Regions from separate parts of the Homo sapiens genome. Here regions 1, 3, 4, 5 and 6 are each linked to region 2. Evidence: promoter capture Hi-C in 16 types of primary human blood cells and fetal thymus (Javierre and others, 2016). All regions are on one chromosome and are shown on one strand. The core of a region is centred on a gene start or on the middle of the fragment in contact, and the rest is flanking DNA. Distances in the headings are between cores, read along the strand shown.

Evidence for each region. Contacts are between HindIII fragments. The CHiCAGO score rates a contact against its expected background, and 5 or more counts as called.
Region 1: a contact is called between a fragment that was not itself captured here and the fragment with the promoter of OR9K2 in region 2, in 5 of 17 cell types (activated CD4 T cells, total CD4 T cells, naive B cells and 2 more). The highest score is 12.4, in activated CD4 T cells.
Region 3: a fragment that was not itself captured here is called in contact with the fragment with the promoter of OR9K2 in region 2 in 9 of 17 cell types (naive CD8 T cells, activated CD4 T cells, total CD4 T cells and 6 more); the score reaches 10.9 in naive CD8 T cells.
Region 4: a contact is called between a fragment that was not itself captured here and the fragment with the promoter of OR9K2 in region 2, in 4 of 17 cell types (naive B cells, total CD4 T cells, non-activated CD4 T cells and 1 more). The highest score is 6.1, in naive B cells.
Region 5: a contact is called between a fragment that was not itself captured here and the fragment with the promoter of OR9K2 in region 2, in 11 of 17 cell types (naive B cells, erythroblasts, activated CD4 T cells and 8 more). The highest score is 9.2, in naive B cells.
Region 6: a fragment that was not itself captured here is called in contact with the fragment with the promoter of OR9K2 in region 2 in 3 of 17 cell types (total CD4 T cells, activated CD4 T cells and non-activated CD4 T cells); the score reaches 6.1 in total CD4 T cells.

The regions. Positions count from the first base shown.
Region 1 is chr12:54,738,574-54,742,352 of GRCh38, forward strand. No RefSeq gene overlaps it. Among named protein-coding and RNA genes, the nearest start is that of DCD, 92 kb to the left of the region's middle. The HindIII fragment of the contact is 7,865 bases long and covers 1-3,779 here.
Region 2 is chr12:55,124,016-55,128,118 of GRCh38, forward strand. OR9K2 (olfactory receptor family 9 subfamily K member 2) reads left to right here and starts at 2,391. Exons shown (of 3, transcript NM_001005243.2): 1 at 2,391-2,501; 2 at 2,813-2,896. It also overlaps the pseudogene LOC644383. The HindIII fragment of the contact is 7,142 bases long and covers 992-4,103 here.
Region 3 is chr12:54,714,550-54,718,440 of GRCh38, forward strand. No RefSeq gene overlaps it. Among named protein-coding and RNA genes, the nearest start is that of DCD, 68 kb to the left of the region's middle. The HindIII fragment of the contact is 3,088 bases long and covers 1-2,899 here.
Region 4 is chr12:54,776,228-54,779,862 of GRCh38, forward strand. No RefSeq gene overlaps it. Among named protein-coding and RNA genes, the nearest start is that of MUCL1, 76 kb to the right of the region's middle. The HindIII fragment of the contact is 157 bases long and covers 1,707-1,863 here.
Region 5 is chr12:54,756,565-54,760,449 of GRCh38, forward strand. No RefSeq gene overlaps it. Among named protein-coding and RNA genes, the nearest start is that of MUCL1, 96 kb to the right of the region's middle. The HindIII fragment of the contact is 338 bases long and covers 2,386-2,723 here.
Region 6 is chr12:54,829,776-54,833,839 of GRCh38, forward strand. It overlaps a transcript of MUCL1 not described here. Among named protein-coding and RNA genes, the nearest start is that of MUCL1, 23 kb to the right of the region's middle. The HindIII fragment of the contact is 668 bases long and covers 2,063-2,730 here.

The DNA of each region.
Region 1 (3,779 bases), core at 692-3,191, 390 kb before region 2:
GGTTGTGCTATTTTACATTCCCACCAGCAGTGTAGAAGTGTTCCCTGATCACCTCATCCACTCCAACATCTACTGTTTTTTGATTTTTTGATTATGGCCAGTCTTGCAGGAGTAAGGTGGTATCACATTGTGGTTTTGATTTGCATTTCCCTGATCATTAGTGATGTTGAGCTTTTTTTAATATGTTTGTTGGCCACTTGTATATCTTTTTTTGAGAACTGTCTATTCATGTCGTTAGCCCACTTTTTGATGGGATTGTTTGTTTTTTTCTTTCTGATTTGTTTGAGTTCATTGTAGATTCTGGTTATTAGTCCTTTGTCAGATGTATAGATTGTAAAGATTTTCTCCCACTCTGTGGGTTGTCTGTTTACTCTGCTGACTGTTCCTTTTGCCATGCAAAATCTCTTTGGTTTAATTAAGTCCCAGCTATTTATCTTTGTTTTTATTGCATTTGCTTTTGGGTTCTTGGTCATGAAATCCTTGCCTAAGCCAATGTCTAGAAGGGTTTTACCAAGGTTATCTTCTAGAATTTTTATAGTTTTGGGTCTTAGATTTAAGTCCTTAATCCATCTTGAGGTGATTATTGTATAAGGAGAGAGATGAGGATCCAGTTTCATTCTCTTACATGTGGCTAGCCAATTTTCCCATCACCATTTGTTGAAAAGGGTGTCCTTTCCCCACGTTATGTTTTTGTTTGCTTTGTTGAAGATCAGTTAGCTGTATTTGGGTTTATTTCTGAATTCTCTATTCTGTTCCATTTTTCTATGTGCCTATTTTTATACCAATACCATGCTGTTTTTGTGACTATGGCCTTATAATATAATTTGCAATCAGGCAGTGTGATGCCTCCAGATTTGTTCTTTTTGCTTAGTCTTGCTTTGGCTATGTGGGCTCTTTTTTGGTTTCATATGAATTTTAGAATTTTTTTTTCTAATTCTGTGAAGAATGATGGTGGCATTTTGATGGGGATTGCATTGAATTTGTAGATTGCTTTTGGTAGTATGGTCATTTTCACAATACTGATTCTACCCATCCATGAGCATGGTTTGTGTTTCCATTTGTTTGTGTCATCTATGATTTCTTTCGGCAGTGTTTTGTAGTTTTCCTCGTAGAGGTCTTTCAACTCCTCGGTTAGGTATATTACTAAGTATTTGTTTTAATTTTTTTTGCAGCTATTGTAAAAGGGGTTGAGTTCTTGATTTGATTCTCTGCTTGGTCGTTGTTGGTGTATAGAAGAGCTACTGATTAGTGTACATTAATCTTGTATCCAGAAATTTTGCTGAATTATTGTATCAGTTCTTGGAGCCTTCTGGAGGAGTCTTTAGGGTTTTCGAGGTAAACAATCATATCATCAGCGAACAGTGACAGTTTGAATTCCTCTTTACTAATTGGATGCCCTTTATTTCTTTCTGTTGTCTGATTGCTCTGGCTAGGACTTACAGTACTATGGTGAAGAGGAATAGTGAGAGTGGGCATCCTTGTCTTGTTCCAGTTCTCAGAGGGAATGCTTTCAACTTTTCCCATTCACTATTATGTTGGCTGTGGGTTTGTCATAGATGGCTTTTATTACATTGAGGTATGCCCCTTGTATGCTGATTTTGCTCAGAGTTTTAATTAAAAGGGATGCTGGATTTTGTCAAATGCCTTTTCTGCATCTATTGAGATGATCATGTGATTTTTGTTTTTAATTCTACTTATGTGGTATATCACATTTATTGACTTGCATATGTTAAATCATCCCTGCATCCCTGGTATGAAGCCACTTGATCATGGCGGATTATCTTTTTGATATGTTGTTGGATTCTATTAGCTAATATTTTGTTAAGGATTTTAACATTTATGTTCATCAAGGATATCGGTCTGTAGTTTTCTTTTTTGGTTATGTCATTTCCTGGTTTTGGTATTAGGTTGATGCTAGCTTCATAGAATGAATTAAGGCAGGTTCCCTCTTTTTCTAACTTGTGGAATAGTGTCAAAAGAATTGGTACCAATTGGTCTTTGAATATCTGGTAGAATTCTGTTATGAATCTGTCTGGTCCTGGACTTTTCTCTGTTGGTGATTTTAAATTACCATTTCAATCTTGCTGCTTATTCTTGGTCTGTCCAGGGTATCTAATTCTTCCTGATTTAAGCTAGGAGGGTTGTATTTTTTCAGAAATTTATCCATATCTTCTAGGTTTTCTAGTTTATGTGCATAAAGGTGTTCATAGTAGCCTTAAATAACCTTTTGTATTTCTGTGGTGTCAGTTGTAACATCTGCTGTTTTGTTTCTTATTGATGCTATTTGGATTTCTCTCTTCTTTTCTTTATTAATCTTGCTATTGGTCTATCAATTTTATTTGTCTTTTCAAAGAACCAGCTTTTTGTTTTATTTATCTTTTGTATTTTTTTGGTTTCAATTTCATTTAGTTTTGCTCTTATCTTGGTTATTTCCTTTCTTCTGCTGGGTTTGGGTTTGGTTTGTTCTTGTTTCTCTTGTTCCTTGAGGTATAACCTCAGAGTGTCATTTTGCACTTTTTCAGTCTTTTTAATGTAGGTATTTAGGGCTATGTACTTTCTTCTTAGCACTGTCTTTGTTGTATTGCAGAGGATTGATAGGTTATGTCACTATTGTCATTCAGTTCGAATAATTTTTAAATTTACATCTTGATTTTGTTTTTGACCTGATGATCATTCAGGAGCAGGTTATTTAGTTTCCATGTATTTGCATAGTTTCAAAGGTTCCTTTGGGAGGTGATTTCCAGTTTTATTTCACTGTGGTCTAAGAAAGTGCTCGATATAATTTAAATTTTCTTAAATTTATTGAGGCTCATTTCGTGGCCTATCTTATGGTCTATCTTGGAGAAAGTTACATGCACTGTTGAATAGAATGTGTATTCTGCAGTTGTTGGATGGAATGTTCTGTATATATCTATTAAGTTTATTTGTTTCAAGGTATAGTTTAAATCCATTATTTCTTTGTTGACTTTCTGTCTTGATGACCTGTCCAGTGCTGTCAGTGGAGTATTGATGAAGTCCCCCACTATTATTGTGTTGCTGTCTTTTTCATTTCTTAGGTCTATTAGTAATTGTTTTATAAATTTATGAGCTGCAATGTTAGGTGCTTATATGTTTAGGATTGTGATATTTTCCTGTTGGACAAGACCTTTTACCATTACATAATGTCCCCTTTGTTTTTTTTAACTGCTCTTGCTTTAAAGTTTGTTTTGTCTGACATAATAATAGCTACTCCTGCTTGCTTTTGGTGTCCATTCACATGAAATGCCCTTTTCCACCCCTTTAAGTTTATATGAATCCTTGTGTGTTAGATGAGTCTCTTCAAGGCAGCAGATAGTTGGTTGGTGAATTCTTATTCATTCTGCAGTTCTGTATCTTTTAAGTGGGGCATTTAGGCCATTTACATTCAATGTTAGTATTGAGATGTGAGGTACCATTCCATTCATCTTGCTATTTCTTGACTGTGTACCTTGGTTTTTTTTTTTTGCTTTTTAACTTGTGTTTTTGTTTTATAGGTCCTGTGAGATGTATACTTTAAAGATGCTCTGTTTTGGTGTATTTCCAGGATTTGTCTCAAGATTTAGAGCTCCTTTTAGCAGTTCTTGTAGTGGTGGCTTGGTAGTGGCGAATTCGCTCAGCATTTGTTTTTCTGGAAAAGACTGTATCTTCCTTTACATATAATGTTTAGTTTTACTGGATAAAAAATTCTTGGCTGATAATTGTTTTGTTTGAAGAGGCTGAAAACAGGGCCCCAATCCCTTCTAGCATGTAGGGTTTCTGCT
Region 2 (4,103 bases), core at 1,141-3,640:
CTTTGGCCATTCTGGTTCCAGGTGATGAATTCCTTAGTGTGGGTTTCCTCCACAAGAGTCCACAGCTTGCTGAGGAAAGTTGGCAGTTCAAACTCTGCTTCCTTGTTAACAGGTGCACAGGGATTCCAAATTCTACATCCAAATGCGGTGGTAGCATCGGCGGCAGCGACCGGAATAATTTATTAAAGATTCAGTTGTTGGACCAACTGGATGTCATTACTTTAGAAAGGTGAGTAACTGTCATCCAGGATATAATCTGTGCTCTTCATTAGCGACAAATATATGAAACAATTACAGGTCCAAGTACAAGGAGTCAAAATGGGATTGTCAGCCACCACTGTAAAACCTATCAACTCACTCTCAATTTTTTTTTGCTGGATGCTTGCATGACATTTGTCCCTGCTGAATGAATATTCTTACTGCTTAACGGAGAGATAATTTTACTAGGGGAACACAACAATTGATAAAATGAGCTCTAAATTCAGTCTCCTTACTGAATTTACATTCATTTTGCTGAACCAACTGAGAGGTGAAGCTGGCTGGGCTTCTGGGTGGGGTGGGGACTTGGAGAGCTTTTCTGTTTAGCTAAAGGATTGTAAACACACCAATCAGCACTCTGTGTCTAGGTAAAGGTTTGTAAATGCACCAATCAGCACTCTGTAAAAACGGACCAATCAGCACTCTGAAAAATGGACCAATCGGTGCTCTGTAAAATGGACCAATCAGCAGGACGTGGGTGAGGACAAATAAGGGGATAAAAGCAACCCACTAGATTCCCCTTCCACCCTGTGGAAGCTTTGTTTTTCAGCTTAGCAACAAATCTTGCTGCTGCTCACTCTTTGGGGCCCTGCTGCCCTTATGAGCTGTAAAATTCACCACCAAGGTCTGCAGCTTCACTCCTGAAGCAAGCCAGACTACAAACCCACCCGAAGAAAGAACAGCTCTGGAGGTGCCACCTTTATGAGCTGTAACACTCATTGCAAAGGTCTGAAGCTTCACTCCTTTTTGTTTTTTTTCTTTTCTTTTTTTGTTTTTGTTTTTTAATTATTATTAGACTTTAAGTTCTAGGGTACATGTGCGCAACGTGCAGGTGTGTTACATATGTATACATGTGCCATGTTGGTGTGCTACACCCATTAACTCATCATTTACATTAGGTATATCTCCTAATGCTATCTGTCCCCCCCCGCCACCTCAGGACAGGCCCCGGTGTCTGATGTTCCCCACCCTGTGTCCAAGTGTTGTAGTTGTTCAATTCCCACCTATGAGTGAGAACGTGCGGTGTTTGGTTTTCTGTCCTTGCCATAGTTTGCTGAGACTGATGGTTTCCAGCTTCATCCGTGTCCCAACAAAGGACATGAACTCATCCTTTTTTATGACTGCATAGTATCCCATGGTGTATATGTGCCACATTTTCTTAATCCAGTCTATCATTGTTGGACATTTGGGTTGGTTCCAAGTCAGCGAGACCACAAACCCACCGGGAGGAACGAACAACTCCAGACATGCCACCTTTAAGAGATTTTAAGAGCTGTAACTCACTTTTGAAGTCAGTGAGACCACAAACCCACCAGAAGGAAGAAACTCTGGACACATCTAAATATCTGAAGGAACAAACTCCGGACACACCACCTTTAAGAACTTTAACACTCACCGGAAGGAACCAACAGTTCTTTAAATTATTTTGAACTATATACAGGGACTGATGAGAAGTTACTAACTTAATACATGACACCTGAATAAACAACTTTAAAGCAATTAAAATTACAATATAAACCCAACTTTAGATCCAGTTAATCATGTGGCCTTTACTTGATGGATTAGAGGGCGTTTGTTGGATTTTTGCCCATATCATGGTCGTGCTGTTCTATCTTTCTTCTCAATTACTATTGAGAAAATATAGTTTAAAAAGTCATCAAGGAGAGATTTGGGTGAATAGAATTCTGAAAGTAAATATGAAATTAACTTTATGATTAGGACTCAAAATTTTCCTACAAATGGCATTATGAACCACAACATTTCCTTTCGTATCTATTTCTACTTGCTTATCAAAAACTGTGCTATAATGATAAATTGAAAATGCTGCTTTTTCAGTGAAGAAATTAAAATTAAAAGATCCTTGTGATTTTTCCTAAAGAATGTCTCATATGTACTTTAAGTACTCTTAGGCTTTTTAAAAAAATATAGAATCTCTGAGGTCTTCATGGATCTTGCTTTTAGATCCTAGAAGTCTTACTAATTAATTGACTTGTGTTCTTCTCTCCCAGAGGTACTGTCTCCCAGAACATAGAGGAAATCTCAATACTGTAATTATATGAAAAAGCTGTAGCAAAACCGAAGCCCTCGTGGATAACTGCTGTTGATATTTTGGCAGTATTCAGAGATGCCAAAGAGCTCAGGACCTCTACTTGCATATCCATGGCAATCTATCCTCTTGCCTTGAAAGCATACAAGTTTCTGAGAATTCAGGATAGATAATATCTTGTGGATTGATTCCTCAGGTTCACTTTGCTTATCTATAGATTTTTGTTCCTGGAATCACTTCAGTTTTGGCAGAACATGATTTGAAAAATTCACCTTGACTCTCTTCTAAAAAGGACTATAAAACTTTTCAGGAAATCAACTACTGAAAAAAAGACTTTTTAAAATAGAGCAATGAGGCACATAAGCCACATTTATCTATGGGAAGAATCTAAAACTGTAATAATAAATGTGGATTTGTGGGGAATGATTCATTTTATTTCAAAGTAATTATTTTTCAGTATTTATAATTATGACAGTCATTAATTAACTTTATGTTTATCCTTTCTAGAATTAAAACAATAAACAGAGGAAAACATTGGAACTCTGCTGATTGATTTTTACCAGAATCTGACCAGTTACTAAACAATACAAGGTAAAAGTAACTTAAAACCTGTAAGTTTTTGAAAAATAAGTCACAAACTGACTACTTGTTGTTGGCTTCTGCGGGAATAACTCCCTTTTCCAGGTAAAAAATGTCATCAGCAATGCATTTATTAACATTTATAATGTTACAATGTTTATAACATTTATGATATAAATTTATTTTAATAAGTTTGTTTTTTTATATTCTCTGATTCCACATACTCATTATCATTCAGCTTTTTTCTACGTAATAATATGTATTGAATTATTGTCATTCACTAGATTCAGAACATTATGTTGACAATACGCAGCAAACAAGCTGAGTTTGATGTTAAGGATATTATTGTCAAGTGAGGAATAATTACTATTAATAATAATATTAAATTCTAATGTTGAAATGAGTTTGATAGAAATAAATCTTAGAAATTAAAATAATCTGTTTTGCTTCTAGATGAGAATAAAATGAAGATAAATTATATATATTATTTTTCAAAAAATGATTTTTCATGCTGACTTCAGTCAGCTTTCTTTCACTTCTTAAATGTCTCACATCTTTCCAGACCCTAAGTGCAATCTAATGTAAGCTCTTACTACTTCTTAATTACTTACATATTTAATTTTTGATAAAATGGGTGAATATTTTATTTTCAACATTTAATACAGTCTTAAATAATGATAACATCTTATTCAGCTTTTCTCTTAATAATCTTTTTTCTCAGGCAAAATATTCCATTTCTCCAAGAGTTCTTCATCTCTCTAAACTTTTAACAGATTGATTCTTCCCCTCAACTGAGAATGTTTTGTCCAAAAACGACCATATATATTATTGGTTTTCAACCTAATAAGCACTATTTGGTATGAATAGTGGGACTGAGCACTGAAACGTATAATAAAAATAATGGCTAACATTTACTGAATACTTAGTTTACCATAAATGGTGCTAAGTGATTTACATACGTATGTCATTTTCTATTCCCAAGAAAACTTTGAGGACTCTTATTTCCACTTTATATATGAGAATACAGTAGCATAGAGAGAGAGCATAAGTAACTTGTCCAAGATCCCATTTAGAAAGTGAGAGAAGCAGAACTGGAGCCTAGATTTATTTAAACCTAAAACCCATACTAACCACTGCAGTATTGGATGGATAGTTTTTATATTTTTCTCTGTTTCTGCATGATCATTATCATTCAACTTTTATCTATAGTAAATATGTA
Region 3 (3,891 bases), core at 106-2,605, 410 kb before region 2:
CATATCCTTGACCCACTTTTTGATGGGATTGTTTGTTTTTTTCTTGTAAATTTGTTTAAGTTCTTTGTAGATTCTGGATATTAGCCCTTTGTCAGATGGATAGATTGCAAAAATTTTCTCCCATCCTGTAGGTTGCCTGTTCACTGTGATGATAGTTTCTTTTGCTGTGCAGAAGCTCTTTAGTTCAATAAATAATGATAAAGGGGATATCAGTACTGATCCCACAGAAATACAAACTACCATCAGAGAATACTGTAAACACCTCTATGCAAATAAACTAGAGAATCTAGAAGAAATGGATAAATACTTGGACATAAACACCCTCCCAAGACTAAACCAAGAAGAAGTTGAATCCCTAAATAGACAAATAACAAGTTCTGAAATTGAGGGAGTAATTAATAGCCTACTGGCTGGGCGCGGTGGCTCATGCCTGTAATCCCAGCACTCTGGGAGGTTGAGGTGGGGGGATTATGAGGTCAGGAGTTCGCGACCAGCCTGACCAACATGGTGAAGCCCTGTTTCTACTAAAAATACAAAAATTATCTGGACGTGGTGGTGGGCACCTGCAATCCCAGCTACTCAGGAGGCTAAGGCAGGAGAATCGCTTGAACCCGGGAAGTGGAAGTTGCAGTGAGCCGAGATTGCACCACTGCACTTCAGCCTGGGTGACACAGCGAGCCTCTGTCTCAAAACAAACAAACAAAAAACAAAGAAACAAACCAACCTGGGAGTAGATGGATTCACAGCCGAATTCTACAAGAGGTACAAAGAGGAGCTGGTACCACTCCTTCTGAAACTATTCCAAACAATAGAAAAAGCAGGACTCCTCTCTAACTCATTTTATGAGGCCAGCATCATCCTGATACCAAAACCTGGCAGAGACACAACTCTTGCCTTTAAAAACCCTTACCTGTGTGCCATCAGGGAGTTTGGGTTTTAAGCAGCATGAGCTGTTCTGATTCTCCTTGCTTGGTGTCTTGCAAATAAATGGCTCCCTTTCTACTGCTGCAATAACCTTTTTGTGGATATCTGGACTTAACTGCACTGGGCAAATGGAACCTAGTTTGGTTCTATAACAATATCTAGTAGGCAGCAAAGACTCAGATTTTGGAGGCTGAAAGTCTGGTGACTCTCGTTATGCAGGGGCAACACATTTGGATAAAAGAAACTGCAACAGTTGGAAAACTTAACTGTCTGCCACCTGGTGTGGTGTCAGTGAAAAGGATGGCAAAAAGGCAGAGTATTGGGGTTGGTTGGCTGCTTCTTACTGCTTTCATCCAAGTTCTAGAAAAGAGATAAATTCAGGCTAGAGCTCACCAGTCTGTTAACAGAGATACAGACTGTTGGAGGTATAGCTCTCTTGCAGGTGCTCCGTGCCTGAGGCCTCTAATTTAAATTGACTGAAGGTCTGGAATTGGAGCCTTGCAGTTTGGTAAAGAAAATCAGGAGCATACCTCAAAGGGAAGCAGTTATATGCTGTGGCTGTGAAAAGACAGCCTAAGCAGGAGATAAAACTGTGGTCCTAAACCTTTTTCAGTACCTTTTATTAAGAGTTTTCTGCCAGACAATGAGAGCTCAGTGCAACAGCAAAGATCAGATTAAGAATCTTGTTTTTATGCTAAAACAAGGGTTTTTTTTTTTTTTTCTTTCTGAGGGCTTCTAGACTGCTGCCATTAACTTTATGGCTTAAGAGGCATGGATAGAGGAGAGAAGCCAGTAAGCACAGACCAGAGTCTTCAGATTTAAAAACGATGTGCAGATGCATTTGGTTGTGGAATATTTGCATGTGGGATGTCTGGAACTAACCACAGGCAAACAGATCATAACTCTACTAAGGTTTTGAAGGAATTATACTGACAGAGGAATCACAAGCCTGGCTGTAAAAGCCTGTGACTGTTCCACCCCTAAAGCCCAGGCCTCCAAAACAGAGAGTGGGAAGTTGTGCAACACCCAAGTAGGTAATACTTTCCAATGTTGTATTAGTCAGTTCTCACACGGCTATAAAGAAATATCTGAGACTGGGTAATTTTTAAAGAAAAGAGGTTTAATTGGCTCATGGTTCTGTAAGCTGTGCAGGAAGCATGATGCTGGCATTGTCTTGGCTTCTGGGGAGGTCTCAGGAAACGTACAATCTGCACGTGGCTGGAGCAGAAGGCGAGGGGAGGTGCCACACACTTTTAAATGACCAGATCTTATGAGAACTCTATCATGAGAACAGCACTGGGGGCCGGTGCTGAACCATTAGAAACTGCCCTCATGATCCAAATCACCCCCCGCCAGCCCCCCTCTCCAGCACTGGGGATTACATTTCAACATGAAATTTGGGTGAGGATACAGAGTCAAACCATATAAAATGTCTATTTCAATTTGTTCATGGAAGATAATGGACAAGAGAGAACAGATTAGACAGGACAGTGGACAAGGGAATTACTCTCCAAGACCAGAATCCAGGATGTCAGATGGTCAAAATAAGCACTCTACTACCAAAGAACAATGGAATTTATTAATTATAATGGACTAGTGACTGCTGTGTATTTTCTCTGCTCCCCATTACCAAATCGTAGATTTAATTGCATGCAGTTAATCTGCTTCTTGCTCCTCCATTGCATCTTTGGTGTTTTTGAGGCAGATGAGGTCACCAGATCACAAAGATCCATATCTAGACTTGACTGAGAGTTATCTCCCAGAGGTCCTGGACTTTGATCTGGAAGCTGTGCCTGGTTGGGGCTTTGCTGTTGTGTCTTTTGAGGAGGGTATGAACAGGTCCTTTATGGAGAGGAAGGTTGTGCACAGGTGGTTGGGTGACCAAAGGGACTGACTGTATTGGAGACTGCAATAAGAGTTCCAAATATTCATTCGTCCCTTCTTCCTTAGTAAGAATCCTCAAATGTTAGATGGAAGCTTGGCTGCTGGACCTAAAGATTATTTTTCAGCTGTCATTGCTAGTCCTATGGACACAAGACTAAGTTTTGGCCAAGAGTGTACAAATGACTGTGCTTGGTGCATCCGCTGAGAGGTGTCATTAGAGGGAAGAATGGGAGAATCCTTTAAAACAACAACAAAAAATCTTTCCTGCTGGCCAGAATGAGTTTGCTGGAAGTGGAAGGGATATTGTCAACCAGGAGGTAATGTGGAGTCCACATGATGAAGATGGTGGTATAAGATAGAAGAAAGCTGGATTGTTGACAATGGAGCTCCCCAGAATAGTTGTAGGTTGCCTGTACTTATGTGAAATAAAAATGTATTTTTGGATCAAATTCTAATGAATACACATTTTACCTTAGATTTATATAATTAGGTAAAAAAACCAGAGCAGCTTTTTTTTTTTTTTTTTTTGAGATGGAGCCTCACACTGTCACCCAGGCTGGAGTGCAGTGGTGTGATCTTGGCTCACTTCAACCTCTGCCTCCTGAGTTCAAGTGATTCTCCTGCCTCCGCCTCATGAGTAGCTGGGATTACAGGTGTGCGCCACCTCGCCCGGCTAATTTTTGTATTTTTAATAGAGATGGGGTTTCATCATGTTGGCCAGGCTGGTCTTGAACTTCTGTTCTCAAGCAATCCACCAGCCTTGGCCTCCCAAAGTGCTGGGATTATAGGCATGAGCCACCACACCCAGCCCATTGCAGCATTTTTAATGATCAAAAAAACAAACAACAAAAAACAACCAAACTTAAGAGAACCCACTGGAAGTGGAGGCAATATGGTGAAGATATGGATTTGAATAATGTTTTATATTCAATTTGACTCTAAAAAGACATAACAAACAAGTTGTATTTTCTTTTCTCTCAGAGACCACTTCATTGAGTAAAAGCACCTGATGTGTTGCTTGGGATTTAGGGGTGGAGCTGCTTTGCAACTTGATGGCAATTTTGAAGCAGGCCCGTGTCCCTG
Region 4 (3,635 bases), core at 535-3,034, 350 kb before region 2:
ATGAAAGCACCCAGACCAATAGTAGTGATACCCACAGTTAACAAAATGGTGTACAGCTGCACTTGACAGTGTTTTTTCTTTTTCTTTCTTTTTTTTTTTTTGTGGTAGAGGTGGTGAGAATTTAGACTCAAATAGGTCCTGGGAAGACTACACACCTTTGAATTGGCCTCCAGCATTTATGGGATAGAGGCAAGATTAAACATTTATAAGTATGAGGAAGATATATTTAGGAGTCTCACGTGTAATGAATATTTATATATGTGAAGGGGAGATATATCCCCCCTTTAAATGTAGGAAAGGGCAATGGGAAAGTTTTTAAAAAATTGGTGTGAGACGTGAGTCACTGAAACGTCCTTGATTTAAGGGAGATTAAGGCCTGGGGCAATATAGAGACACATTCCACGGTCCATTTTATGGGAAGAAATTTGAAAAAGGATTGTTTGAGGAGACTGTTATGTCTATCAATTAAACCAGCTGTCTGGTATCTATCAGGGACATGAAAATTCTACTGATGCCTTTATGAAAAAGAGCCTGGGGCAGTTCCAAGATGGCTAAATAGGAACAGCTCCAGTCTACAGCTCCCAGTGTGAGTGATGCAGAAGATGGGTGATTTCTGCATTTCCAGCTGAGGTACTGGGTTCATCTCACTGGAGCTTGTTGGACAATGGGTGCAGAACAGTGGGTGCAGCCCACCGACCATGAGCTGAAGCAGGCTGAGGCATTGCCTCACCCAGGAAGCACAAGGGGTCAGGGAATTCCCTTTCCTAGCCAAGGGAAGCTGTGACAGACCGCACCTGGAAAATTGGGTCACTCCCACCCTAATACTGCACTTTTCCAGTGGTCTTAGCAAAGGGCATACCAGGAGATTATATCCTGCACCTGGATCAGAGGGTCCCATGCCCACAGAACCTCACTCATTGTTCACAGAGCAGTCTGAGATCGAACTGCAAGTCTGCAGCAAGGCTGGGGGAGGGGTGCTCTTTATTGCTGAGGCTTGAGTAGGAAAACAAAGTGGCTGGGTAGCTCTAACTGGGTGGAGCCCACCACAGCTCAAGGAGGCCTGCCTGCCTCTGTAGACTCCACCTCTGGGGGCAGGGCATAGCCCAACAAAAGGCAGCAGAAACCTCTGCAGGCTTAAATGTCCCTGTCTGAAAGCTTTGAAGAGAGTAGTGGTTCTCCCAGCATGGAATCTGAGAACTGAGAATGGACAGACTGCCTCCACAAGTGGGTCCTTGACCCCCAAGTAGCCTAACTGGGAGGCACCCCCCAGTAGGGGCAGGCTGACACCTCACACGGCCGGGTACCCCTCTGAGATGAAGATTCCAGAGGAACGATCAGGCAGCAACATTTGCTGTTCAGCAATATTCACTGTTCTGCAGCCTCCACTGCTGATAAACAGGCAAACAGGGTCTGGAGTGGACCTCCAGCAAACTCCAACAGACCTGCAGCTAAGGGTCCTGACTGTTAGAAGGAAAACTAACAAACAGGACATCCACACCAAAACCACATCTGTACATCACCATCATCAAAGACCAAAGGTAGATAAAACCACAAAGATGGGGAAAAAGCAGAGCAGAAAAGCTGAAAATTCTAAAAATCAGAGCGCCCCTCCCCTTCAAAAGGAGTGCAGCTCCTCACCAGCAACAGAACAAAGCTGGATGGAGAATGGCTTTGATGAATTGAGAGAAGAAGGCTTCAGATGATCAAGCTTCTCCGAGCTAAAGGAGGAAGATCGAAACCATTGCAAAGAAGACAAAAACCTTGAAAAAAGATTAGACGAATGGCTAACTAGAATAACCAGTGTAGAGAAGTCCTTAAAAGAAGCTGAAAGCCATGGCATAAGAACTACGTGATGAATGCACAAGCTTCAGTAGCCAATTCAACCAACTAGAAGAAAGGGTATCAGTGATTGGAGATCAAATGAATGAAATGAAGTGAGAAGAGAAGTTTAGAGAAAGAAGAGTAAAAAGAAATGAACAAAGCCTCCAAGAAATATGGGACTATGGGAAAAGACCAAATCTATGCCTGATTGGTGTACCTGCAAGTGACAGGGAGAATGAAATCAAGTTGGAAAACACTCTGCAGGATATTACGCAGGAGAACTTCCCCTACCTAGCAAGGCAGGCCAACATTCAAATTCAGGAAATACAGAGAACACCACAAAGATACTCCTCGAGAAGAGCAACTCCAAGACACATAATTGTCAGATTCACTGAAGTTGAAATCAAGGAAAAAATGTTAACAGCAGCCAGAGAGAAAGGTTGGGTTACCCACAAGGGGAAGCCCATCAGACTAACAGCGGATCTCTCGGCAGAAACTCTGCAAGCCAGAAGAGAGTGGGGGCCAAAATTCAACATTCTTAAAGAAAAGAATTTTCAACCCAGAATTTCATATCCAGCCAAACTAAGCTTCATAAGTGAAGGAGAAATAAAATCCTTTACAGACAAGCAAATGCTGAGGGATTTTGTCATCACCAGGCTTGCCTTACAAGAGCTCCTGAAGGAAGCACTAAGCATGGAAAGGAACAACCGTTACCAGCCACTGCAAAAACTTACCAAATTGTAAAGGCCATCGAAACTAGGAAGAAATTGCATTAACTAATGAGCAAAATAACCAGCTAACATCATAATGACAGGATCAAATTCACACATAATATTAACCTTAAATGCAAATGGGCTAAATGCTCCAATTAAAAGACACAGACTGGCAAATTGGATAAAGAGTCAAGACCCATCAGTGTGCTGTATTCAGGAGACCCATCTCATGTGCAGAGACACACAGAGGCTCAAAATAAAGGGATGGAGGAAGATCTACCAAGCAAATGGAAAACAAAAAAAGGCAGGGGTTGCAATCCTAGTCTCTGAAAAAATAGACTTTAAACCAGCAAAGATCAAAAGAGACAAAGAAGGCCATTACATAATGGTAAAGGGATCAATGCAACAAGAAGAGCTAACTATCCTAAATATATATGCACCCAATACAGGAGCACCCAGATTCACAAAGCAAGTCCTTAAAGACTTACAAAGAGACTTAGACTCCCACACAATAATAATGGGAGACTTTAACACCCCACTGTCAACATTAGACAGATCAACGAGACAGAAAGTTAACAAGGATGTCCAGGAATTGAACTCACCTCTGCACCAAGCAGACCTACTGGACATCTACAGAACTCTCCAACCCAAATCAACACAATATACATTCTTCTCAGCACCACACCACACTTATTCCAAAACTGACCACATAGTTGGAAGTAAAGCACTCCTCAGCAAAAGTAAAAGAACAGAAATTATCACAAACTGTCTCTCAGACCACAGTGCAATCAAACTAGAACTTAGGATTAAGAAACTCACTCAAAACCGCTCAACTACGTGAAAACTGAACAACCTGCTCCTGAATGACTACTGGGTACATAACGAAATGAAGGCAGAAATAAAGATGTTCTTTGAAACCAACGAGAACAAAGACACCACATACCAGAATCTCTGGGACGCATTCAAAGCAGTGTGTAGAGGGAAATTTATAGCACTAAATGCCTACAAGAGAAAGCAGGAAAGATCCAAAACTGACACCCTAACATCACAATTAAAAGAACTAGAAAAGCAAGAGCAAACACATTCAAAAGCTAGCAGAAG
Region 5 (3,885 bases), core at 1,305-3,804, 370 kb before region 2:
AACATCCCTCTTAGTACTGCTTACACCATAGCCCATAGATTTTATTATTGTGTTTCCATTTCTTTTGTTTCAAAATATTAAAAAATTTCCTTCTTAATTCCTTCATGGGCCCATTGATCATTCAGGAACATGTTTAATTTCCATGTGTTTGTATAATTTCTTCAGATCCTCTTGTTAATAATTTCTAGTTGTATTCTATTGTGGTCAGAAAAGATATTCGATATAATTTTGGCTTTTTTGAATCTGTTGAGACTTGTTTTGTGACTTAAAATATGATCTATCCTAGAAAATGTTCCATGTGCTGATGATAACAATGCATATTCCATATCACTTGGATGAAATGTTCTGTAAATATTAGTTAGGTCCATTGGGTCTAGTGTGAAGTTTAACCTGGATTTTAAAAAATTGATTTCTGTCTGGATAATTTGTTCTTTACTGAGAGAAGGGTTTAAAGTCCCCTAACATTACTGTATTGAAGTCTATCTCTGACTTCATATTTATTAATGTTTGCTTTACATATTTGGGTGCTCTGGTGTTGAGTGCATATATATTTACAATTGTTATAGACTTGCTGAATTGGCCCTTTTATTATCACATAGTGACATTCTTTTCTCTTTTGATAATCTTTGACTTGAAGATTTTGGTGTCCATTTGTATGGAATTTTTTTTGTATCTCTTCATTTCAGACTATGTGTGTCTTTATAGGTAAGGTGAGTTTCTTTAGGCAGCATATATTTGAACCCTGTTTTTTTTTTTTTTTTTTTTTTTTTTTGTATTTTGAGACAGAGTCTTGCTCTGTCGCCAGGCTGGAGTGCAGTGGCACAATCTCGGCTCACGGCAACCTCCACCTCCCGGGTTCAAGTGATTCTCCTGCCTCAGCCTCCCGAGTAGCTGGGACTACAGGCGTGCGACCCCTTGCCCGGCTAATTTTTGTATTTTTAGTAGAGATGAGGTTTCACTATGTTGGCCAGGATGGTCTCAATCTCTTGACCTTGTGATCTGCCTGCCTCGGCCTCCCAAAGTGCTAGGATTATAGGCATGAGCCACCATGCCCAGCCTGAACCCTGTTTTTAAATCGATTCATTCATGTATCTTATTTTTAAAATTAATTAATTAATTAATTAATTGATTTTGCGATGGAGTCTCACTCTGTTGCCCATGCTGGAGTGCAGTGGTGGCTCACTGCAACCTCTGCCTCCTTGGTTGAAGTGATTCTCCTGCCTCAGCCTCCCGAGTAGCTGGGACTAGAGGTGACCGCCACTGGCTAATTTTTGTATTTTTAGTAGAGGCAGGGTTTCTGATCCCCCGTCTCGCCCTCCCAAAGTGCTGGAATTACAGGTGTGAGCCACTATGCCCAGCCCATTCATGTATTTTAATTGGAGTATTTAGTCCATTAACATTCAGTATAATAATTGATAGGTAAGGACTTACTGTCATTTTGTTACTTGTTTTCTGGTTGTTTTTTTAACTCCTCTCTTCCTTTCTTTCTGAGTGTCTTCCTTTGTGGTTAGGTAAAGTTTTCTGGTAATACATTTTAATACACTGAGCTTTATTTTTGGTGTATTTAATATAGGTTTTTGCTTTGCGGTTGCCATGAGGCTTACAAAATTATCTTATAAATATAATAAGTTATTTTAAACAGATGACAACTTAACTTTTATCACAGAACAGAAAGGAAGGAAAAACTAAAAAACTCTATACTTTAATTCCACCCCCCATTCTGACTTCTTGTTTTTTCAATTTACATCTTTTCATATTGCCTATCTCTTAAAAGGCTGCAGTAGCTATTTTTTATAGATTTTTCTTTTGGTCTTCATTCTAGATTTTTGAGTAGATTACACAATGACAATATTAGAATATTGTTAATTTGTCTGTTTGTCTGTGTACTTTCTTTTACCAGTGAGTTTCTTTCTTTCTTTCCTTTTTCTTTTTTTTGAGACGGAGTCTCACTCTGTCACCCAGGCTGGAGTGCAGTGGTATGATCTCGGCTCACTGCAACATCTGCCTCCTGGGTTCAAGTGATTCTCCTGCCTCAGCTTCCCAAGTAGCTGGGATTATAGGCACCCACCACCACACCCAGATAATTTTTGTATTTTTAGTAGAGATGGTGTTTCGCCATGTTGGCCAGGCTTGTCTTGAACTCCTGACCTCAGGTGATCCTCCCCCCTTGGCCTCCCAAGTGCTGGTATTACAGGTGTGAACCACTGCACTCAACCAGTGAGTTTCATATCTTCAAATGTTTTGCTTTTGTATGATAGCATCATTTTCTTTCAGACTGAAGTACTTTTAGCATTTCTTGTAAGATGGGTCTAGTGGTGATGAATTCCTTCTGTCAGCTTTTGTTTGTTTGGGAAAGACTTTATCTCCCCTTCATGTTTGAGGGAAAGCTTTTTCTGGGTACAGTATTCTTGGTTGAAAGTTTTTTTTTTTCCCATTAGCACATTGAATATGTCATTCTACTTCCTTTTGGCCTTTATGTTTTCTCCTGAGAAGTCTATTGCCAGATGAATCAGAGCCCTTTTATATGTTATTTGCCTCTTTTCTCTTGCTGTTTTTATGATCGTTTCTTTGTCCTTGACCTTTGAGGGTAAACTCTCAAAGTCTTATATGCCTTCGGGTGGTATTATTTGGATTGAAGTCATTTGGTGATCTCTAGCCTTCCTGTAGCTAGATTATACCTTTCTCTAGGTTTGGAAACTTTTCTGTTATTATTTGTTTAAATAAGCTTTCTAACACTTTCTCTTTCCCAATTTCGTCTTTAATGGCAATGACACTTAGATTTGCTCTCTTAAAGGTATTCTCTATATTTTGCAAGTGTTCTTCATTTCTTTCCATTCTTTTTTCTTTCTTCTCCTTTGACTGTGTATTTTCCGATAGCCTGTCTTTGAACTAACTGAGTTTTCCCACTGTTGATCCATTGTGCTGTTGAGAGCCTATAATGTATTTTTCAGTTTAGCAAACATATTTCTCAGTTCCAGGATTTCTGTTTAAATTTTTAAATTATTTGAATATCTTTGTTAAATATCTCTAGTAAATTTCTGAATTGCTTTTCTGTGTTATCTTGGAGTTCACTGAGTTTCCTTTGAACTGCTACTTTGGATTCTTTAACAGAGCTTATATATCACTGCCTCATTAGGATCAGTCTTTGGCTCATTGCTTTGCTCATTTGTGGAGGTCAGAGTTCCCTGTTTGCTGTTGTTTCTTATGGATATACATCTATGGCTTTGCATTGGAGGATTATTTACAGTTTTTGCTGTCTGGCTTGTTTTGGTCTTCCTAGGGTATGTTTGCTATGGGGTAATATTTAGCTGCCTGTTGGTCTCCTTATCCTACATTGTTGCCTCCTTTTCAACACTAGATGGTGCCTTAAGCCCAGATTTGGCTTGGGCTTCTTGCAACTGCTCAGAGTGTTGCCCATCCCTGACTGAGGAGAGAGAGGAAGTCCCAAAGAAGTTACCATACCCATGAGGGAAATCTGGCTAGGGATTTGTGCTCAAAAGACTGGTAGAATGTGCCTCATACAATGTCGTACTGCTGAACAGACACTCTGATTTGGCATCTCCTTTGCCTTAAAGACCAGGGTTTCACAGGCTGGGGTTTCTAGTCCCACTTTCCCTCTTTATCTCCAGCTGCCCTTGGGGTTTTCCTTCCTACAGGTATTTCCCATGAGTTGAGGCAGGAATGCTTTTCCTACAAGGGAATCCACGATGGTGGAGAAGCTGGCTATCTACCTCAATCTCACTTTTTCCGATCTAGAAACCATGAGTCTGGGGGAATTTTCCACAAATGGTGCCTGGCAGATTGAGGATCGGTATCAAAGATAGACAGGTTTGTTTCTCTTACCCGAAGCTCGGAGTTTCTCACTTCTCTGTGGCTGTAGGGATT
Region 6 (4,064 bases), core at 1,147-3,646, 290 kb before region 2:
GTACATTTATCATGATATTCCCCCCTTAAATAAAGTCTACTTTAACAAGTGCCATAAATATTTTCTTCTTTAAACAGCTATGGTGCCTGTGACTTGCGTAGAGTCAGAGTCGTCATCATTGTACCCCGACCTCTCATCCAGGGCCTTACATGTGTTCCTTTGAACCCTTTGTCTTCAATCCCCAGGGACTGGTCAGGAATCCGTTGGTGAGTCAGATTCCTGAACCATTGCTCTAGATGACAGTTCACTGAAGCTAAGGACAGATTTTGATTCTTAAGATTCTGAGTATACTGAAAAATCTGGATTAGAGTCTCAGAATAACAGAAGCTGAATTTGAGGCCCACGTTTCTTTGTTTGCAAGAAGTTGGGCTATGAGCAGCTGTTTATAAGAAACTAGGTTAGTCCCAGGTAAAAGGAGGTGGGTTAGAGCCCTAGACTTCTTTGTTTGAAAGATACCTGCTGGACTAGCAGTCTTTCTTCCTGTCTCTCTCTGTCTGGAGGGAGGATTGATCCCTGACTTCCTGGGTTGGTAGTTTTTCTTCCTGGCTCTCAGTCTTGAGTGGGAAATTTTTCTTGGCTCTTTGTGAGGCCTCTCCATTCTCTCTATTTTATCCTGTTTCTCTCATGGAAAATTCTCAGTTGGCTGAAACTCCCTTCTTGAACTCCTACTGACTATATGCTCTACCAATCTGTCCACCTCCTTCCTGTTGGCATAAATTTGCAGAGAATAATTTGGAACTTCATTGTCCTCTTTGGGAAACTTATGATCTCCCCAAACTGGCTTCTGTAAGGCCTCTCCCTTCCCATTCCTCCTTTGTTCTTTAACCACTTTTGATCTTCCCTTCAGCGACCTTGAAGCCTTTGATATATCCCCCTTTTAACTCTACCACCTTCATCCCTCTGTTCATTCTGCCAGGCTTTTCATTTCCCACTTCAACCTCTCAGCTCCCAACAGTCACTTGAACTATAGACCCCTTGGCCTCCATTGGGGGCTCTCCTTAAGAGACTGAGGGATCCCTGAGGGATCCCCAAAAGCAATGATTAGAGGCTGAAAACAGAAAAAAAACTTTGGAAACAGACTGGATGTTTTGTACACTCAGGTGAGTGTTGGATACACACAAACAGCTTCATAATAATTCACCAAAATTTTAGCCCACAACTTCCCTAAGATGACAAAGAAAGTCTTAAAAATGTCTGCTACAAATGTTGGTGAACAGATATCCTTAATTTGTCCTATTTGCCAGAAACGTGATTTGGATAAAAATATAAAGTAGAAGAAAGGTGAGAGGCAATTATTTTATATAAACCAGAGAGTTTTGTATTACTAACTTATGGCTAAACTTTGAAAATGAAAGCACTAAGATCTCTACAGTCTGTATATTTCTGTATGTGTATATGCATGTATGTTATGTTTATGTGATATTTTTCTACTCCCAAATGGTATTATCAAATTAATTTATGCAATTTCTTAGAGGAATTCTATGCAAATTGACTTAGAGATAAATGAGTGCTTATATAAATTAAATATTCCTAAAACTCACAGAAATTTAGAAACTCAAATGTCTTTCAAGTTCATGTGACTTGGGTAAGTTTTTGGTAAATAAGATTAGTTTAATATTGTTAGTTTAGTAAAAACAGCTGTGTTCTGGGTAATCAGCATTAAGTATAATAGAAACATACATTTATATTCTACTTGGGTTTAATAGTCATATAAGGTTAAAATAGTTAAGGGGGAAATAACTTGAGATGATGACTAACTTTGCTTAATGTTACAATAAGTCTACCTGAAAAATAGTTTCTTTTTGGTAACTTGAAACCTTAAGTTATACTAAGTTAAATGATGCATATTCATTGAATATCTAGATTATTTCCAAATAAGATAAAATACTGAAACAATTACTGAGCATAAGTTTAAGTTTATATATTTTTGGCATCTTGCTTTTATACAGTATAAAGAGACTAAATATATTTGAGTCTGTTAATTTTTGTCACATTGAAAAATTATACTATGAGGAAGCATATGCCTCTAAAATTGTGAAATGGTATATTCATCACTTTTGCAAGCTTGCTACAGAATGCTGCCATGTAACAAAGACATTTCACAATTATCTACCTCCTAATTTTCTCTATAAAAGAAACCTTACTAATGGTTAAACATTACAATTAATATGTGAAAATAATTAGGAAAACAATTCTTCATCAAAAGTTTTCAGGGAAAATAGGATATATCTTTGATAGGAAATATACGAGTATGAAGGATGTGTTTTTGTTAAGGGAAAAAGAGAGTAATTTTATCCTAAAGTTAGATGACTAGTTGTTCCAGAATGAGGAATAAGAAAAATATAGAGCAAAAACTAAAGGATATAGGAAGTTGCAGAAGGCTTGTGGAAAATGAAATTTATGTGTAGTCAAGCTGGCTAAGATTTGAATTCCTTTGTTTACACATTTAAAAATATGAGCCTTAACATCAAAAGTACACTAATGCAAAGCTAGAATATGGCTTTCTTTCTGTTAAAAAGACAAATTTTGGGTGGGGGGATTATTGGTTTGCTCTTAATAAGAGATTGTGAAAGGCTTTTCTTTAACTTTTGCATAATCTGCCTGGGAAACCAATGTTTTGTGTCTTTTCTGAATAATTTCCTCTGTTTTATGTTGTCTTTATCATGTCTTTGATTACTTAAGAGTCTTCACAATATTAAAAGAGCTAAGGGTTTTGTTTACAACTATGTAAGCTTCTGTATTTGCCTTTAAAATCTTTTATTGTCACTTTGGTTAAACGGATAACTGTTGTTTCATGGTGGCCTGTGATCCTACTTACTCGTCTATTTAAACCTTTTGACATTTTTGACAATCTCTAACAATCGGATGCTTTATGAGGTCTTTTTGACCTAAAACTGACTGAGACATCACAGACGGCCCCTGGAAAATACCCAAGAGAATTTTTCTTTCATTTTGCAAAGGAATCTGGTAAAAATAATTTATATTATTTGATATGTTAAGCTGAATGGAAATGTGTCAAATAAGAAGTGATGCTTAACCTTCCCTAGGTTACATTTGTATAGGTAAAATGCTATTTTCAAGAAATCATATAAAATTTCTAGAAATTTTGTATGTCCTGGTATAAAGTGATCAGCTATAATTTGAGTTATTATTTTAAACTTTGTATGTCACAAAATAACCAAGCTTCCTTATTAAATGAATTATCATCAGATCTTTAACCTGGATTTATATTATGTTTTTCTTTTTAAATTCCTGTACCAGTACAGCACTATTCGTTACTGTAACTTTATATTAATTTTTGATATCTAGAAGAGTAAGAGTTGCTCATTTGACTTTCCTTAGAGCTGTCCTGTCCATTCTAGGTCCTTTTTCCTTGGCTTTTTATGTATGTTTTAATAAAGCATATTCTGTTGTGCATGCATTCATATTTACCTACACACACACATCCAACCTTTTGAAATTTTGTTGAGTTTTGCATCGAATATATAGAATTATATGAGGAGAACTGGAATTTTCTAATCTATGCAAATGTTTTATTTCTCAGTTTATTTTTCCTTTTATTTAGTTTCAATAATATTTTCTAGTTTTTTGTATAGATGAGATCCACATATCTTTACAGTTATATACACCTTTCCAATACTTGGTATTTTCAGTTCATAAAATTTCAACCCATCTGATGATGCCTAGTGCTATCTAATTGTTTTAATTTTTTTCCTTATGTCAAACAAATTAGAGCACATTTTCATAAATTTATTGGTCATAAAGATATCCCCTTTTCTGAAGTCTTATTCAAAACTTTTCCCCAATGGTTATATTGGATTATCTTTTTCTAAGGAATTTATACACCATGGAATACTATGCAGCCATAAAAAATGATGAGTTCATGTCCTTTATAGGGACATGGATGAAGCTGGAAACCATCATTCTCAGCAAACTATTGCAAGGACAAAAAACCAAACACCGCATGTTCTCACTCATAGAGGGGAATTGAACAATGAGAACACATGAACACAGGAAGGGGAACATCACACTCTGGGGACTGTTGTGGGGTTGGGGGAGGGGGG